3 separate regions of the Homo sapiens genome follow, and regions 1 and 3 are each linked to region 2. The links are contacts of gene promoters, found by promoter capture Hi-C in blood cells and fetal thymus (Javierre and others, 2016). All regions are on one chromosome and are shown on one strand. Each heading gives the region's core, a stretch centred on a gene start or on the middle of the fragment in contact. The rest is flanking DNA. Distances are from core to core; before and after follow the strand shown.

The links. The method cuts DNA at HindIII sites, captures the fragments that hold promoters and counts their contacts. A CHiCAGO score of 5 or more calls a contact.
Region 1: a contact is called between the fragment with the promoter of ENTPD8 here and the fragment with the promoter of DPP7 in region 2, in 3 of 17 cell types (non-activated CD4 T cells, erythroblasts and M1 macrophages). The highest score is 6.6, in non-activated CD4 T cells.
Region 3: the fragment with the promoter of LCN6 here is called in contact with the fragment with the promoter of DPP7 in region 2 in 4 of 17 cell types (neutrophils, endothelial precursors, monocytes and 1 more); the score reaches 7.8 in neutrophils.

The regions. Positions count from the first base shown.
Region 1 is chr9:137,438,899-137,442,606 of GRCh38, forward strand. ENTPD8 (ectonucleoside triphosphate diphosphohydrolase 8) reads right to left here and starts at 2,459. Exons shown (of 10, transcript NM_001033113.2): 1 at 2,388-2,459. RefSeq lists a silencer at 2,319-2,613. The HindIII fragment of the contact is 13,084 bases long and covers 1-3,280 here.
Region 2 is chr9:137,112,355-137,116,150 of GRCh38, forward strand. It overlaps DPP7 (dipeptidyl peptidase 7), which reads right to left and starts at 2,379. Exons shown (of 13, transcript NM_013379.3): 1 at 2,293-2,379; 2 at 2,109-2,222; 3 at 1,889-2,028; 4 at 1,511-1,674; 5 at 1,007-1,142; 6 at 852-933; 7 at 599-765; 8 at 391-451. The coding sequence starts at 2,359. LOC124902314 (a long non-coding RNA gene) reads left to right here and starts at 2,445. Exons shown (of 2, transcript XR_007061874.1): 1 at 2,445-3,796. RefSeq lists silencers at 2,075-2,224, 2,255-2,604. The HindIII fragment of the contact is 32,578 bases long and covers 1-3,796 here.
Region 3 is chr9:136,746,622-136,750,422 of GRCh38, forward strand. LCN6 (lipocalin 6) reads right to left here and starts at 1,904. Exons shown (of 7, transcript NM_198946.3): 1 at 1,773-1,904; 2 at 803-942. The coding sequence starts at 1,862. It overlaps LOC100128593 (a long non-coding RNA gene), which reads left to right. Exons shown (of 3, transcript NR_033913.1): 2 at 457-1,951; 3 at 2,125-3,290. MIR6722 (microRNA 6722) reads right to left here and starts at 349; the gene lies at 272-349. The HindIII fragment of the contact is 9,973 bases long and covers 1-3,801 here.

The DNA of each region.
Region 1 (3,708 bases), core at 1,209-3,708, 330 kb after region 2:
CCTGCCTCTCCCGTGCCACCCTCCCCAGGAGCAGCCACAGCTCCAGCCTGCACTGGGGGCCCAGGGCTCTGCCTCCTCTCTGCGGCCCCCACCCCAGGCACTCCTAGGGTGGGGGTTTCTCTCTGGAGCCCTGAGGGGACTGTTGCCGAGGGGCTGTGGGTGAACCCAGGGTGAGGCCAGCCATCCTAGGAAGCCGAGTGTGAGGCTTCTTAACAACATCGGTTTCTCTGGAAATCCAGCCCAAGGCTTCCCTAATCTGACTCTGCACCTTCTTAGCTGGTGCCAGATGGCGCCTGGTCGGGAGGTGGACCCAGGGATGCCATCTGAGGGGCCTGGGCTTCTCTAGCCCTGTGGCCGAGGTGTCCACCTCCTCCTCTGCCCAAACGCCCAGCAAGGGTCTCAGCTCTCAAACTACCCCAGGCCGACCCTGTGCCCCATACAGCCCCACTTCACACGGGTACCACTGCCAAAGGAGTGGTCAAAGCCAGAGGCTGCCTGCCAAGGTCCCGGCACCTGAACCCCATGTGACCGTGTCCTATCGTGTTCCCCCGGGAAACGTTGCACCCACACTGAGTGGCAGGCGCGGGTGCTGCCCTGGTCCTGACCTGGGGCTCCTGGGCACGTGGAAAGTGGGACACGCTGTGGGGTCCTCACGCAATTCTGTATGTCCGGGGGATATAAGCCCATTTTAAGGAGGGTAGATGACAGAGGCTCAGAGAGGACAGGAGGCCGGTCCAGCCCAGACAGGGCCCAGCCTGTGTCCCCAACCAGCACCCAGGCCATAGGCCACCTCATAGGGACAAACAGGTGACAGGGGCCAGGAACACAGGGACTCCACACCCAGAAGATGTAGCCACCTGAGACCCCCAGGCCTGAGCCTCCAGGTAGGCAAAGAGGTTGGGGCAACCTCTCCCACACTCAAAAGACCCCCAAGACCAGAACAGCCTCCCAGATCAGAACAGCTCCTCAGACCAGGAAAGCGCCCCCCAGACCAGAACAGCCCCCCCGAGACCAGGACAGTGCCCCCAGACCAGGAGAGCCCCCCAGACCAGGACACCCCCTCAGACAGAACAGTCCCCCAGACCAGGACAGCCCCCCAGACCAGGACAGCCCCCCCCAGACCAGGAGAGCCCCCCAGACCAGGACACCCCCTCAGACAGAACAGTCCCCCAGACCAGGACAGCCCCCCCAGACCAGGACAGCCCCCCAGACCAGGACAGCCCCCCCAGACCAGGACAGCCCCCCCAGACCAGGAGAGTCCCCCAGGCCAGGACATCCCCTCACACAGAACAGTCCCTGAGACCAGGACAGCCCCCCCAGACCAGGACACCCCCTCACACAGAACAGACTCCCAGATCAGGACAGCCCCCCAGACCAGGACAGCCCCCCAGACCAGGACAGCCCCCGCCAGACCAGGACAGCCCCCCCCAGACCAGGAGAGCCCCCCAGACCAGGACACCCCCTCACACAGAACAGATTCCCAGACCAGGACAGCCCCCAGACCAGGACAGCCCCCCCCAGACCAGGACAGCCCCCCAGACCAGGACAGCCCCCCCCCAGACCAGGAGAGCCCCCCAGGCCAGGACACCCCCTCAGACAGAACAGTCCCCCAGACCAGGACAGCCCCCCAGACCAGGACAGCCCCCCCCAGACCAGGAGAGCCCCCCAGACCAGGACACCCCCTCAGACAGAACAGTCCCCCAGACCAGGACAGCCCCCCCAGACCAGGACAGCCCCCCAGACCAGGACAGCCCCCCCAGACCAGGACAGCCCCCCAGACCAGGACAGCCCCCCCCAGACCAGGACAGCCCCCCCAGACCAGGACAGCCCCCCAGACCAGGACAGCCCCCCCAGACCAGGACACCCCCTCAGACAGAACAGTCCCCCAGACCAGGACAGCCCCCCCAGACCAGGACAGCCCCCCAGACCAGGACAGCCCCCCCAGACCAGGACAGCCCCCCAGACCAGGACAGCCCCCCCCAGACCAGGACAGCCCCCCAGACCAGGACAGCCCCCCAGACCAGGACAGCCCCCCCAGACCAGGACACCCCCTCAGACAGAACAGTCCCCCAGACCAGGACAGCCCCCCCAGACCAGGACAGCCCCCCAGACCAGGACAGCCCCCCCAGACCAGGACAGCCCCCCAGACCAGGACAGCCCCCCAGACCAGGACAGCCCCCCAGACCAGGACAGCCCCCCCAGACCAGGACACCCCCTCAGACAGAACAGTCCCCCAGACCAGGACAGCCCCCCCAGACCAGGACAGCCCCCCAGACCAGGACAGCCCCCCCAGACCAGGACAGCCCCCCAGACCAGGACAGCCCCCCAGACCAGGACAGCCCCCCAGACCAGGACAGCCCCCCCAGGACATCCCTTTGGACCCTCACCTGGGCTGGCTGCCCACTTCCCGGAGCGGCAAGGAGGAAGCTGTGCTTAGACGCTTCTGTGTCCGCGCACCTGGCGTCCAGCCTCTCCCTGCCCCTGGGTCCAGGACAGCTGGGGTGGGCGGGGCAGGGCGGTGACAGCCTCGGGCGATGCGCTGTGCACCTGGCTCCAGGGCCCGCAGGCTGAGGCCAGCGCCCAAGGTCGCCCCGCCCACTCCACCCTCGGGTCCCCCGCCCAGGGTCTCCCCGCATCTCCCACCCGCGGGTCTGTCTCGGTGCCCAGGGTCGCCCCGCCCCCGGGGGGGTGGGAGGCAGGAGAGGGAAGCTGAGGAGGAGCCTGGAGCTGCGAGGGGCAGAACTCCGGGACCCCGCCCCCCACGGCCCGCAGCCGCGCTCCTGACCCCGGCCCGGACTTTACCCCCCGTGCCGCCCGGCCCGGGCAGGTCGGAGTCAGGTGACCCCGAAGGTCCAGGCCCGGGGCGGGGGCGGAAGCGCCTGCAGCCCCGCGGCGCCCGTCGTTTTCCATTTGCAGCCACTCTGCCTTTCCCGCTCGCCGTGGGTCCCGGGGCCGCCGCCGTCGGGGTCCGGGCCTCTGAAGCGGGGCGGGGCTGGGGGAGGCGCGGAGCCAGGGCCGGGCTGGGTGGGGCTGGGGGTGTTGGGGGGCGGGGAATAGGGTGGGGGAATGCGGGGGGGCGGTGAATTCCTTTCTGTGTGAGATCCAAGAACCCTCTTGGGGTCTCAATCGGGACTCTCTTTACTGGTAGCATATTTGGTGTCATGTGTGTGCATTTTTGTGCTTTTTCTTGGTGATTTCACTGTTTATAATGGCGTCTCAGCATAGTGCAGAAATGCAAGAAGGCTGAGATGCACTTTACAGAGAAAACACACATTGGATAAGCTTCATTCGTGCAAGAGTTAGCGCTGTTGGCCATGAGTTCAATGTTAGTGATACAATACATATTAAGTAAGGTGCCCTTAAACAAAAATACACATAAAAGAAGGTTTTATTAATATATTGATCATTTAACAAAAATGTGACCAGAAGCTTGCAGGAACAGAACTTTGCATTTCCCTTAGGAGCAATAGTTTAGCATATTCTTTAATTCAGTGTTTGCAGCAACTTTATACACTAGCTGCCATGGGTCATAAGAGTCAAATGTGTTTGTTGAGGATTTTTGCAGTTGTGTTCAACAAAGTTGCATAGTTTTCTTTTTTAGTCCTGGTTTCTGTATGGGGATAATGCTGGGCTTATAAAATGAGTCTGGGAAGTTGTCCTTTTTTTTTTTTTTTTTTGAGATGGAGTCTCGCTCTGTCACCCAGGCTA
Region 2 (3,796 bases), core at 1,129-3,628:
AGTGAGGAAGGCCCTCCAGGCTACCTGCTTGGAGGTCGGCGGTGTCTGTGCTGCCAGCCCCGGGCCTGACTGTTGAGGGCCCCCCCGCTCTCCACGGGGCAGGGTGGGGCCTGCTGCCCTCTGTTGCCCTCCATGCTGGGGACCCCAGGGGCCCCTTGGGCAGCACCCACCAAGCTGGGCCTGGCTACAGCCAGTGCTGAGAGGGTCCCCAGGGACGGCCCCTGCCTCCCCCAGGGTTTCTGGGAAGGTCGTGCTGTCCACCCCACCACAGCCCTGGGGCAGGAGGCAAAGCCCCTGGCCGGGCTGCGGATCCTCGCCCCACCCGGCCCCAGGACCCAAGCCAAGCCTGGGGTCTCCACACTTGCCCATCTGGGGCCGGGGGAAGGGCACCTGCCAGTGCTCGCAGCCCCGTGATCCTCTGGGCCTCACTCAGCAGCCGATCACAGCCCACCTGGAGTGCAGGGGCAGCGGCGACTCAGCGGGGTCCCCTCCACCAGCTCCGCCTCCCTGGCTCCCAGGATGAGGGTCAGGCCGCTGACCACCAGCCTCGGGACACTCCAGCCGGCCTCTCCCTGCGCCCTGGGAGGCGGCGCCTCACCTTGACGGGGTTGGCAGGGAGGGGACCCAGGAAGTCAGTGGGGTAGGGGTAGTCCATCATGGCCAGCACGGTGAAGGCATTCCGGGCGAACATGAAGAGCTGGGTCAGGTCCTTCTCGTCTGACAGCGGCTGGCAGGTGCCGAACTCCCAGCGGACCGTGTCGTAGGCTGCGTGGAAGGGGCAGAGACTTGAAGTTTGGGCATAGCTGGCGCTGGGGCGGGTCAGGCAGTGGGAGGCGGTGGGAGGACCTCACCTCCCTGTAGGAACAAGTCCTTGATCTGTCGGAACGCTTCCCGCACACCCTGGGTGCATTTGGGACTCTGGCCCTCAAAGTCCTGGGGGAAAGAGACCGTGCTGACTGCAGCTGCTGTCCCTTAGGGGGCCTGGAGGACCCCAAGCCTCACTCACCGCCGTGACGTCCCGGAAGAACTGGTTGGAGTCGCCGAGGCCTGCCACAGCTAGAACGGGCGCGCTGGCCGCCAGCGCCCCCGCCACCAGGTGGGGATACTTCATCCTCAGGTAGGCACTGAGCATCCCCCCATAACTGGGTGAGGGACACAGGGTTAGGGCTGCTGCCCCCAACACCCCATTTCCTCTTTTCCTCCTCAGGGGCCCACAGGTGCCACAAGGAGGACGACACTTCTGAGACCCACAAATTCCAACCCTGGGCCAGGTGCGGGTGCAGCTCTCACTGGGAAAGGCCGCTAGTGTGGCCGCACATCCAAGCTGAGCAGGTGGCTGGGAGGACAGGTGGGAGGGCTTCCTGGGGGAGGCAACACTAAGCCTGGAACCACTGCCTGAGGCCTTACGAAAAGGCAGCGGTGGGAGTCAGAGGGGAGTGGGGAGAAGGGCTGGGGGCGCTGGGTCGGGGCAGGGGAGGGAGGGGGTGCGGAGGCCGGGGGAGGCGCCCACCTTCCACCGAAGGCGATGGCGGGGGCATCCTGGGCCCCGAGGTCGCGTCGTAGCGCGCGGAGCAGCTCTGCGAAGTCGGCCAGGGCCTGCTCCACCGTCAGCAGCTCCGTGTGCCCGCGCTGCGTGGACTGCGCACCGAACGGCAGCGACTTCCCGTAGTAGCGCTGGGGGAACGTGCCATTGAGCCCGGCCCCGCGACCCCGCCCGGCACCCGCGTGCCCCGCGACCCCCGCCCGCGACCCCGCCCGGCACCCGCGTGCCCCGCGACCCCCGCCCGCGACCCCGCCCGGCACCCGCGTGCCCCGCGACCCCCGCCCGCGACCCCGCCCGGCACCCACGTGCCCCGCGACCCCGCCCGCGACCCCGCCCGGCACCCACGTGCTCCGCGAAGACCAGTAGAGCCCCCCGCTCGGCCGCCAGCTCCGCGACGAAGGCCGAGTTGTTGGCGAAGGCCCACACGTCGCCCTCGTTCCCAGTGTAGAAGAAGATGGGCCCCTCGCCCCGGACCCAGAACCTGTCTGTGGGGAGGGCGGATGAGGCGAGGGTGCCGGGGGGCGGCGGGACGGCGGGGGCGGCCGGGCCGGGGCCGGGGTCTCACCCGACACCAGGAAGCGCTGAGGGAAGGTCTTGTTGCCGAAGCGCTCGAAGTTGAAGTGGTCCAGACGCTGCTGGAAGAAGCGCTCCTGGAAGCCGGGGTCCGGGGCCCTGCGGGCTGTGGGGGGACGCGAACCTCAGAGGCGGGGCCGGGACCGGGGAATGGGCCGGGGGGCGCCGCCACTCACCCCCCGCCTGGAGGCCGCGCAGCCCGAGCGCCAGCAGCAGGACCGGGGCCCAGGGAGCGGAGCCCATGTCGCCTTCCGCGGGCGCCCGTCACGTGGGCGGGGTCACGGGGCCGCCAGGGCGCGCTCCTCCCTCCAGGCCCCACGTGTTTCGGGCGCCCGCGGTCCCCACGGAGACCGTCGCTGCTTCAGCGCCGCGCCGGGGCTGTGCCCCCCAACACCCCGCGCCCCGCGGCCGCTGCCCAGGGGTCCTTCCCGGGCACGGCGCGGGGAAGCAGAGGGCCCCCGGGCCATCTCCGCGGCCTCCCGCCCCACTGGCTCGTCCTCCTACCGCGGCCCCATCCGGAGCTGCGCTAGGGCGAGTCCCTGCTGCGCCCGCCAAGCCTCCCCAGCACTTGCTCCTGGCAGGTGCCCCACTCCAAGGCAGGGCCGGGAGAGTGGGGGCCGTTCTGCTGCCCTAAGGGCGGGAGGGAGAGGGTCCCAAACAGAGTGCTGGCCCCCCGAAGAAAGCAACCCAGGGTTTGTCCAAGCGATAACGGGCTGGGCTTGGCGGGGCGGGGCCTCGCAGCGGGCAGGAGTGTGGGGTGCCCCTGGAGCGTCTGGGCAGGGCCGGGATGTGGCCGGGTAGCTCCCAAGAGCTGGGAATCGCCACCTGCCCTTCCGACTGGCACCCAGTGTGCCCACACAGCCCTGCAGGGACAAGGGGGGACCAGAGGCCTCTGCTGGGAGCTGGGGCCTCCTCCCTGGGGAGCACCCAGAGGATGGAAGAAGTCACCTTTCCCCAGCGTCCAGTTCAGGGAGTGGGTGAGGGGGCCGTAGTGGTGGGTGCCAGACTAGCTACGTGGAGTCCTGCTGGGGATGTACATGGGCCGCTAGCCAGGCCCAGAACAGGTGCAGGGGCAGCAGGGGCTCAGCTACAGAGAGTTACCCTGTCCTTCTCCCAAGACTACCCTCGGCCAGCATGACCCTGCCCTGCCCATCCTGTGTGGGGCTGAGCGGAGAAGACCGGCCACTTCCACAGCCCCTCACGCCATGGCCCTCCCGTGCCTCACACAGAGGCACCCCCCATGGTGGGTGACTGGTGGCTGGGGCCCTCAGCATGGTGGCAGTGACCATCACGTCACACTGCAACACGAGGTCATCCAGGGCCACACACCGTCCCCACCACGGCCCTCACATCTGGGCCCTGTCCCATCCCTACGCAGTTCCTGGGGCTGCCTGCCGGGGCCCCCGCAGGACGGGGGTGAGGACAAACAGCAGACCTCCTTGGATGTGGAGGTACCCCACGGCGTCCCCCACCCCACACCTCTGCTCCTTTGGCTCCCTCGGGTGCCTTAGGTGGCCAGAACTCCACCAGCAACCCTCACCCAGGACCGCAGCTCTGGAGACGCCAGCTAGGCCGAGAGCTGGCCAGCTCCCCAAGCACACCAGAGCCTGGAGACGCTCCAGGCTTGGCTGGGCCCACAGAGGGGCCAGAGCCTCAGGGAGGGCTCCAGGAGCAGGGTTT
Region 3 (3,801 bases), core at 654-3,153, 370 kb before region 2:
GGGGGGTGCAGTGGGGCCCCTGCCCATACCCTGCAGGCGCAGGTGCAGGGGGAAGGCACGCTGGTGAGGAGGGCAGGTTCTTCTCTCTGGGCCCCGTACCTGGCTCAGTGGTTCAGGCCTGGGCTCTGTCGCCAGCCTGCCAGGGGGTAGACACCCACCACGCCACCCAGCAGGCCACTCTTCTGTGAAGGGAGGCGGGCACCGACTCCTGCCCCAGCACGGCTACCCCCACAGCCCGGCTGCCCTGTAGGTGTCCCCTGTGTAGCACGGCCGCCCCACAGCCTGGCCCACCCGACCCCTGCACGCCGCCACCAGCCATGCATGTGGTCGGGTGCGCCTGCCTGAGGCCACAAGGCCAGTCTGGCCAACAGCGTCCATGACCATATTGTTTGGGGATTTATGTTATGAAAGAACCAGTGGTTCTTAGGTCCGAATGCATTATCCTCCTTTAAACAGAATTCCCGAAAAAGGCCTGCTGAGAGGACAGGCTTCCCCAGCTCTGACCACAGCCTGCAGCCCAGATGACCCAGGACAGGGATGCATGAAGGAGCATAGTCAGAGCAGTGCCCGCCGCGGTATTGAAGGTGGGAGTGCCACCTGGAGGCCCCAGGGACACAGATGTGAGTAGCTGGGCAGAGGGCTGGTGGCTCTGCACAGAGCCCAGTGGGAAAAGTGACGGGGGTGCAGAGGGGCCGTGGGAAGCCCCCAGGCCGCGGTGCCCGGGAGCAGATGTGCAAAGTACATGATGTGGCTGAGCCACAGTCCTGCCTGCGGGAAGGCCTGGCAGGACCCGCCCACTCACCCGTGCTGAGAGGACAGCGTCCGCAGGTTGTTTTCTGGAGTGAGGGTCACCACCACCCCCACGACGTTCTTCATGTCCTTCTCCATGGCAAAGCCCTTTTCCCGGGAGGCCACCGCAAGCACGTACCAGGGCCCAAGAAGCTGCATTGAGGCGGCTCCCGTTAGGGCCGCCAGCCCTCCAGCCTCCAGCCTCCAGCCTCCAACCCTCCAGCCTCAGCCTCCAGCCTCCAAACCTCCAGCCTCAGCCTCCACCCTCCAACCATCCAGCCCTCCAGCCTCCAGCCTCCAACCCTCCAGCCTCCAGCCTTCCAGCCCTGCAGCCTCCAGCCTCCACCCTCCAACCATCCAGCCCTCCAGCCTCCAGTCTCCAACCCTCCCGCCCTCCAGCCTCCAACCTTCCAGCCTTGCAGCCTCTAGCCTTCAGTTCTCCAGCCCTCCAGCCTCCAGCTTCCAACCCCCCAGACCTCCAACCCTCCAGCCTCCAGCCTTCCAGCCCTACAGCCTCTAGGCTCCAGCCCTCCAGCCTTCCAACCTCCAGCCTGCAGCCCTGCAGCCTCTAGTCTCCAGCTCTCCAGCCCTCCAGCCTCCAGTTCTGCAGCCCTCCAGCCTCCAGCCCTCCAGCCTCCAGTTCTACAGCCCTCCAGCCTCCAGCCCAGCAGCCTCCAGCCTCCAGTTCTCCAGCCCTACAGCCTCCAGCCCTCCAGCCTCCAGTTCTCCAACCCTACACCCTCCAGCCCTGCAACCTCCAGTCTCCAGCCTCCAATTCTCCAGCCCTCCAGCCTCCAACCCTCCAGCATCCACCCCTCCTGCCCTGAGGCTCCTGCCTGTGGGACTCCCCAAGGGCTGGCCCAACTAATTCCCCACTGCTCATGCTGGTCTGGGCTAGCCCTGGGGGGCCCAGAAGCTGTGTGGCCTTAAAGGAGGGGCTGGCCCCCGAGGACCAGCTCTCCCCACCCCCAGGAGGACTGTACCTGCTCAGGGTCCAGTCTTCCCAACCACACGGCCTGGGCCCTGGGCACCGAGACCAAAGCCAGAAAAGCAGCCAGCAGCAGGCCGCCCATCCTCCCAGGTCTACACTGCGCCGCAGGCCCAGGATGTGCAGTCCCTCCAGGCCCTGGAGACCCGTTTATATGGCTCTGAATTTCTCCGTGTGGGTGGCACTAACTGCCAGGAACCCTCCTGGCCTCCTGCAAAATTACCCAGGGGAGCACTGAGCAGTGGCAGCCTCTGAGCCCAGATCAGACCAGCTGCACAGCCAGGAGAGGGTCTGGAGTGTGTGGATCAACCATACTATACTGATCCCCTGCTTTCTTCCACCAGAAGGTTCCAGAATGGGCATCCTAAAGCCAGCCGCACCACCTCCCCCGTTCCTGGGGACCCACGCTCTCCCTCGCCCAGCCTGGGAAGCAGGGAGACTGCTGTCCGCTGCCAGGCCCGGCAGGAGGCCAAGGTCAAGCCCAAGGAGAGGAACCAGGGCGAGAACAAGTGGTTCTCAGGAACTGCGGTTTTGGATATCTTTTGTTTCAATCATTAAATATAAAAAGTCCCTGAAAGCCTTTTGAAAAAGGCTCCCACCTCCTCCTGGCCCACCCACCATTCTGCTTTGTGGCCTGGCCTCTGTCCCCCACAGCCAGCACCCCCAGAACAGACTGTCCTGTTCCTTCCACCTCTGCAGCCCACCATCCGGCCCTGCTGCCTCCTGCCTCCCCTCCCTGGGACCCTGGCCTGCTTGTGCCTCCCAAGGCCCCTTGAGAGCTCTCTGCAGCCCCAGTCCGGGAGCAGAGGACAGAGGTGCTCGGCAGGGTCTATCTGAGCCCCTGAAGCCCACTGGGAGGCAGCCGGGAGGGTCCTCCCCCAGTGCCGTGGCCTGCACCCTCTGGGATTCACTCCCACACACCTTCGCTCATTCATCAACAAGGGTGCAAGGAGCACGTCCATGCAACAAGGCTCCAGTGCCCAGGGCCGCCTGCACTCACAGAGCTTATGCTGCAGCCCTGGCCACCTGCCCTGTACCCACGCAGCAGGGCCTGTGACCACCAGAGTGCAGGAGGAAGGCAGAAACCACACAGCTACTGGGGGCTGGGCCTGCGAAGACTGACCGGGCAGTGGGGCCACGGAGGTGCCAGCCACAGCCATGGCAAGCAGGAGTTGCCCAGGGGCTGAGCCACAGAACAAGGGAGCGGGACACTTAGGCCTGGAGCCTTCAGGAGGGAGCCGTGGCTGCTCGCGGTAATCCCAGCACTTCAGGAGGCTGAGGCGGGAGGATCACTTGAGTCCAGGAGTTTGAGACCAGCCTGGGCGACATAGCAAGACTTCGTCTCTACAAGCAAGTTTAAAAATTAGCTGGACATGGTGGCGTGCTCCTGTAGTCCCAGCTACTCAGGAAGCTGAGGTAGGAGGATTGCTTGAGCCCAGGAGGTTGAGGCTGCAGTGAGCTGTGATCGTGCCACTCCTCTCCAGCCTGGGTGATGGAGCAAGACCCCATCTCTAAAATAAAATAAAAATACAAAAAGGAGGAAGCCGAGCAGCTGGGCCAGGCCTCTGAGAAGGAAACACCTGCCAGCCCCACTAGTGTCCCTAAGGGCTGCGGGGAGCCTGGTTCTCGAGGCAGCCACAAAACAGCACGCTACATCAGCCGGGTGTGGTGGCTCATGCCTATAATCCCAGCACTTTGGGAGGCCGAGGCGGGCAGATCACCTGAGGTCAGGAGTTCGAGACCAGCCTGGCCAACTTAGTGAAACCCCATCTCTAGTAAAAGTACAAAAATTAGCCGGGCGTGGTGGTGGCGCAAGCCTGTAATCCCAGCTACTCGGGAGGCGGAGGCAGGAGAATCGCTTGAACCCGGGAGGCAGAGGTTGCAGTGAGCCGAGATTGCGCCACTGCACTCCAGCCTGGGTGACAGAGTGAGTAAGACTCCGTCTCAAAAAACAAACAAACACACAAACAAACAAACAAACAAAAACAAAGGATAAACCTCAGAGTCTAATGAGACTAGTTCCC